Linked DNA regions of Homo sapiens: region 1 is linked to region 2. Evidence: promoter capture Hi-C in 16 types of primary human blood cells and fetal thymus (Javierre and others, 2016). All regions are on one chromosome and are shown on one strand. Each heading gives the region's core, a stretch centred on a gene start or on the middle of the fragment in contact. The rest is flanking DNA. Distances are from core to core; before and after follow the strand shown. Region 1 overlaps STON2 (stonin 2). Region 2 holds the start of SEL1L (SEL1L adaptor subunit of SYVN1 ubiquitin ligase).

Region 1 (2,908 bases), core at 407-2,906, 240 kb before region 2:
AACCAAGGAAAAAGATCTTTATGGTATGAGTTTTTCTTTAAAGTATTTAATTTGGGGTTGGATTCTCTAACCCTACAGGGCCCTTGGGGACTTCCGGAGTGTGTCAGGCACTTTGGTGACTCCTGGAGTTGACTTCAGGTTTCAAGGCAGGAGAGGTAGCTGGAAGGACGGAAAGATAAAAATCTACCACCGCTGCCTCCAAGACAAGTAGTGGCCTGGCTGACCCTCACCAACCAGGTACTGTATGCCAGCTGGTCTGTCTAGAGCTATACCAAAATGATCTCATTTGATCTAGGAGACATCTGTATGAGGTAAGTCTCCATTACCTCTATTTTAGTAAGGGGGGACACTAAGGCACAGAGGTTAGGTGACATGGCCAAAGTTACAAAGCTAGTAAGAGGAAGAGCTAGGATCTGAACCCAAGAGGTCTGAGTTGGCAACCCTTAGTCTTAACCACTCTGGTATACTGCAGCATTTGGACTGTAGCTCTACATTGTTAGAACTGTCCAATCTTGAGCAAATTTCTCAATTTCTGAGTCTGTTTCCTCACTTTTAAGGAGGATAATGATATTTCCTATGCCCCACAATATGGTTGTGAGGACCAAATAAGACATGTGAATGCTACTGTAAAATATGGCATGCTATATGATTTAAATTATTTTCATTATTACTGGTAAAAAATGACAAGGAGCACTTATTCATTCATTTTGAGGTTTGAGGTTTGTTTTGCTTCGTATAGTATAAAACTTTCTAACTTTAATAATCAATAGAAAGTAATAAAAATAACTGGCCAGCTGGGCACAGTGGCTCACGCCTGTAATCCCAGCACTTCGGGAGGCCGAGACGGGCAGATCACCTGAGGTCAGGAGTTTGAGACCAGCCTGACCAACATGGAGAAACCCCATTTCTACTAAAAATACAAAATTAGATGGGTTTGGGGCGCATGCCTGTACTCCCAGCTACTCGGGAGGCTGAGGCAGGAGAATCGCTTGAACCTGGGAGGCAGAGGTTGTGGTGAGCCAAGATGGCGCCATTGCACTCCAGCCTGGGCAACAAGAGCAAAACTCTGTCTCAAAAGAAAAATAATAATAACTGATATTTATTGCCATGCACATTAAGTACTGAGAAAGAGGAGAAAACATTCCTTCTATCAGGAATCTGTAATTAGAAAGAAAAAAAGGAGTCAAATAGAGCTCCTTGTGGGGGCTCTATAATTCCAGCGATGAAGCCTATTCTAGATGCGGGTGCCCTTCCAGGAAGGAGAAATGAGCTATCAAGAAATTGTGAATCTCCAGATAATGACTTCCTGTTCCACAAAAACAAAGCACAGCAGCTGGAAATAACAGTCTATCTCCAATCCCTATTCCACATCCTAGGGCTGTCATCCACAGACTAGTCTGAGGGAGGCTTCCTCTAGCTCCAGGCCTCTAAAGCCTCAACTGCTTCAGATGGGGGGGGGGAATCACAGAATTTAAAAGCCAAACTTACTAAGAATTACCCCTGAGCAAAGTCACCCTGGACTCAGACTCCATCTGTTGCAAGTCATTAAATTCCCAAGCGCGGCTGAAATCCCTGATCTATATACCTCTGTCATGACACACACAATCTGTTGGTGTTTATTTTCCTGCTCTGGTAAGTTCCCAAGGAAGAGAAACTACAGAAAAGCATGTTGAACAGAACCATGCTAGGAGTTTCATCCAGGAAACTGAAGTTGGGACAGATGAAAAAATGAGCACCTTCTAAAATTAAATGATTAAAGGATCAACAGAGAAATCCTTAGTCACCCACCACGAAATGGTTTGTGAATATGTTGCTCTCAGAGATTTAAGAAACACCCATATCCAAGCAAGGTGAGTTGGATATAATTTTAGAAAGACTTGGTAGAAATGTGTTTGAAGTGTATTAATCTGTAATCTAATTAATTATATAGAATTTTAAAACTTTTTAAAACACAATTCATCCATGTCACTAAAGAAATTTAGAAAATACAGACAAGAGAACGACATAAAAAGTACCCAAAGTCCCACCTCTACCACCAAAATAAGAGACATCTGTTTTGTTAAGAAGGTTGATAAAGGAAAAACTGAAAATAGCAACAGCCCAAAACACTCATAAGTTCTAGCCACATGGCTCAGATCAAGTGACACCAAACTGTATTTGGTACTAGAATCATGGTGGTCACTTTAAACCACATGCCTGGGCTTGTCTTAGGCAACTCTTCTGCATCCACCAGGAATATTGCAGAAGTTACCCATACATGCACAGAATTAACGTGTTATACAAACATATATGTGAGACTATCTCAATAAAGGTAGAAAAAGTATGGTAAAATTTAACTTACATTAACTGTAATAGTAATACTATTATCACCATACTAAGAATGGAAGGGAACTTCCTCAACCTGATAAAGGGCATATACAAAAAGAAAACCCTCAGCTAACATCACAATGGTGAAATATTGAAAGTGTTCCTCCCAGTCTCACCTATTCAGCGTTGTAATGGAGTCCTTAGGCATTGCAACAAGGCAAGAAAAAGGAATAAAAAGTAAAAGAAAGAGGTTGAGCCCTGTGGCTAACTTATGAGCATTTTGGGCTGTTGCTGTTTTCAGTTTTTCCTTTATCAACCTTCTTAACAAAAGTAAAAATAATTGTAAAACTGAATACAGCAAGTCCTCAGGATACAAAGTCATTCTTTAAAAACTCAATTATATATTAAAATACTAGTAACAAGTCAACTGGAAATAAGACCTCTAAAAATATTGTTTACTATAGCATAAAAATATCAACTACATAGAAGTAAACTTAATAAAAGATGTGTAAGGCCTCTTCACTGTTGAGAGAAGTTAAAGAAGGCCTAAATAAATGGAGAGATTTCATGTTCATGGATTTGAAAACTCAAAATTGTTAAG
Region 2 (3,369 bases), core at 427-2,926:
CTTTAATTTTCTTTAAACTCTGCCAATTAAATTCAGAGGGATACACACCGTGCTCTTTCATTACTGTAGTTCTCTTTAGTGTGAAGAATCCCTCATGGAGATTGTTAATCTATGTATACCTGAGCTGTTCCAGACCTAAAACCCAATGTTTAACAAACCCATAAGAGGAATTCTGATGCAGGAGGTCCATGGTCCAGCAGGTACTCTACTCATTAAGCTCAACAGCTTCATTTCATGCTTTTTGATCAAATATTAAATAACTGCTAAAAGTGCTTCGAGAGTTAAGTATAGTCTAAAGATCTGGTCATTAACTCAAACCATCACTACTACTGGAGGGAGGGGAGTGGACCTGAAAGAATGATGTTGGCAGTAAAGTAATTAGCATAGGGTTGGTGCTTTTGAAATGGTATCTCAAACCACATCATGGATAGAATTTAGGTTTAAGCCTCTTATTTTAGAAGCAGAATGACGTTATGGCATTGATTTACAACTAGGACAGGTAATTTGGGGATTCAGATAACCATCTGGGAAATTTTCTGTTAAAAAAAAGCTGACATTTATTAAAAAAAGAAAAAGCTGACATTTATACTCCGTGTTGTCCCCCCAAAACGTCAAGCCACAGAACACCTGTCCTGTTAACTGAAACTGATTAAAATTCCAAAGTTTTACTGTACTAATTTTTATTTATCAACACTTAGAAACACGAAGTTTTCATGAACACTCTCAAAATGGAAATTTTCAAATGTAGGCAGATTAAAACATTAAAAAAGGGGGAAAAAAGCAGAACCAGAATAAACATTAGCTAACTGGAAAATCAATTCAAAAGCACACAAATTTCTGTATCTATATAAAACGCATCTTATAAGAACCAAGATTTTCCCAAACATCATAAAATGACTGTCAACAAACATGGGGCAACTCAGAAACACTGTGACAGGTCACCGCTTTCTCAGGAAGGTTTCAAAAAAGTAAAAAGTGGCTACGATGAGATCAAAAGTCTTCGTTTTTAAACAGACAGACCAGGGACCATCTCAGGTGTTAAGCAAACTACTGTCAACATCCTGGTCTGGATGGATCCTCCTCTGCCCCAAAGTGACAGCTCCAGGTTTGTCAATTATTTAACTTACAATTCCCAAGCCCAGAGTTCTAGACCAGACCCTTCCTCTACCCCAGGGTCGAGGAAGCTCCACTCGGGCTCCTGTATCAGGATTCATTCCTTTGGAGTCAATTCCGCGTTCGTGAGAAGAGTCGCGCAAAGTTTGTTACGTGGGAGAGAGGTGTGGGCAGGGTGACCGCCCCTTCTTTTTCCACCCCACTCCACCTTCCTAAATAGCCCCTTTGGCGCAGGCCAAGCAAAGCCAAAGAGCGAGTGACAGCCCAGTGCGAGATGTGCCCAGGGAGAACGGGGTCCCGAGCCTGGAGTCCCCACGGCCCCGCCGGCTGTAGAGGCTGGGGGGCGGAGGCTCTGGGCCTTCAGCCCGAGGGGGCGGATACTGACCCGAGGACGCCGAGGCCAAGCTCAGCAGCACCGCACACAGCAGCAGCGTCAGCCCTATCCGGACCCGCATCCTCCTCTCGGGGCCGGTGCCAACCCCTAGAGCTGTCGCCTTCGCCTCTGCCACCACGGACTCAGCCACCACCGCCGCCTCGCCGCTGCTCTTCCTGCTCTAGTCTCCTTCCTCCGCCCCTTCCCAGGCTTCCCTGACCCAGCGCGCAGCCAATCCCCGCCCGCCGTCGCGGGCTTCTGGTCCAATCACCATGGTCTCCCCGCCCACCCCCATTGCTCCGCCCCGGGGGTCATTCATTGGCCAATCATTGTACGAAGCTCCCACACCAGCTTTCTCGGTTGGACCACGACTCACGGACATGGCCCCAGCTAATTGGTAGCCCCTGGGTTCAACCGGAATCAGCGCGTGAGTCCAAGACTGGGAGAAAGAGGCTCATCCGAGACTACAATTCCCAGAATGCGCTTCATGTGATTAACTCGGGGGGTGCTCTTGGGAAACGTAGTCCATCGTAGGGCAAGATTTACAAGTGCGGGTGACTGTTGAAGTTAGAATTTAACTAACACCTGGGCTAAATATTAACTCAAGGCTATGGATTCACAAGCCTTTTTAAATTGACCCAAAATAAATATTAAGGAATAATTTTAAGAACTTGTAATGTGTTTAGCATCTTTTCCTGTTTTATTTAAAAAATTTAAATTGGGCATAGTGATAAGAGCACTGAGAAAAATGCCACAGCTAGTTGAATTTGAGGTGTTTTTTAAAACTTAGATAAAACAGTACCGTGAAGTACGGAAACCAGGGTGCAACTCAGTACCTGTCCTCCTTTCTCCGACAAAACAAAAGGAAATAAATCCGCTCGGCACAGATTATCTCAATACAGTATTTATTTTCACTAGGTTCACCAGACAATAATCATAAAGAAAATGTGCCAACAGCTTTGAAAAATTATTTTAAACACTTGTCCTCATCCTTCTCCTCTTGTGAGTTGCATTGTTCTCTTCTTTCCTAACTAAAGTCAGGAGACCAGGTTCACGTGTGTGGAGGTAGAGGTGATAGTGATTGCATCGCAGGCACGGAAATACTCTATGTAATAAGCACGAAATCCAGGCATGTTCCAACTGAGTAGCAGAGCAGTGACTTGGTGTGCCTGCCCTTTCTTTTCTCAAACCGTGTCATTCTGCTTTCCCTGTCATCCACCCACAGTCAGCTCTAAGGCCTAGAACCTAGTCCAGCCAAGTGAAGGACTTTGGAAAAGTCTCTGCTGGCCATGTGTCTTAACACTTCTGGGCATTTGTCTTCCTTCCTTTTTTTTTTTGTTTTTTGTTTTTTGTTTTTTGAGATACAGCCTTTTATTTTCAGGAAGATGGTAAAAAACCAACCACTGTTTCTCATTCACATCGGAGGAGATGAAGGAAAGAATTATCTCCTCCAAAAACTTGTCTTTTCAGCTACATCACCATTTCTGTCACTAACAATGTTCCCTCTGAGTTCCTCTGATTATAAATCATAGAGTAAAATCTGGTATATTTTCCTTTCTTTTTCATCTTATTGATAATCAAGTTCTATCAGTTTAAACTATGTAACTTTTAAATTGTTTTATTTTATTATGTACCTCTGTTCTCTTCCTCACTGAAAACTCCCCTAATGGCTTTCATTTTCTCTCACCTGGATGATGCACCTGAGTTCCAGCCATACTCACTGACATCATTCTCCCTTTAACCTGAATCACATATCATGGCCATATTAATTTTCCTTAAACACTGCTTTCATATGCCTATTGAAAATTTTCAATGGCTACACTTTTCACAGAATAAAAAAAATTAGAACTTATTCTACTCACAAAATAGGAACTGTGCTGACA

Evidence for each region. Contacts are between HindIII fragments. The CHiCAGO score rates a contact against its expected background, and 5 or more counts as called.
Region 1: a fragment that was not itself captured here is called in contact with the fragment with the promoter of SEL1L in region 2 in 1 of 17 cell types (monocytes); the score reaches 5.9 in monocytes.

The regions. Positions count from the first base shown.
Region 1 is chr14:81,296,965-81,299,872 of GRCh38, forward strand. The region is part of intron 5 of STON2 (stonin 2); the gene reads right to left. Among named protein-coding and RNA genes, the nearest start is that of GTF2A1-AS1, 77 kb to the left of the region's middle. The HindIII fragment of the contact is 3,420 bases long and covers 1-2,908 here.
Region 2 is chr14:81,532,177-81,535,545 of GRCh38, forward strand. It overlaps SEL1L (SEL1L adaptor subunit of SYVN1 ubiquitin ligase), which reads right to left and starts at 1,677. Exons shown (of 21, transcript NM_005065.6): 1 at 1,499-1,677. The coding sequence starts at 1,568. RefSeq lists an enhancer at 1,465-1,964 and a silencer at 1,681-1,800. The HindIII fragment of the contact is 11,079 bases long and covers 1-3,369 here.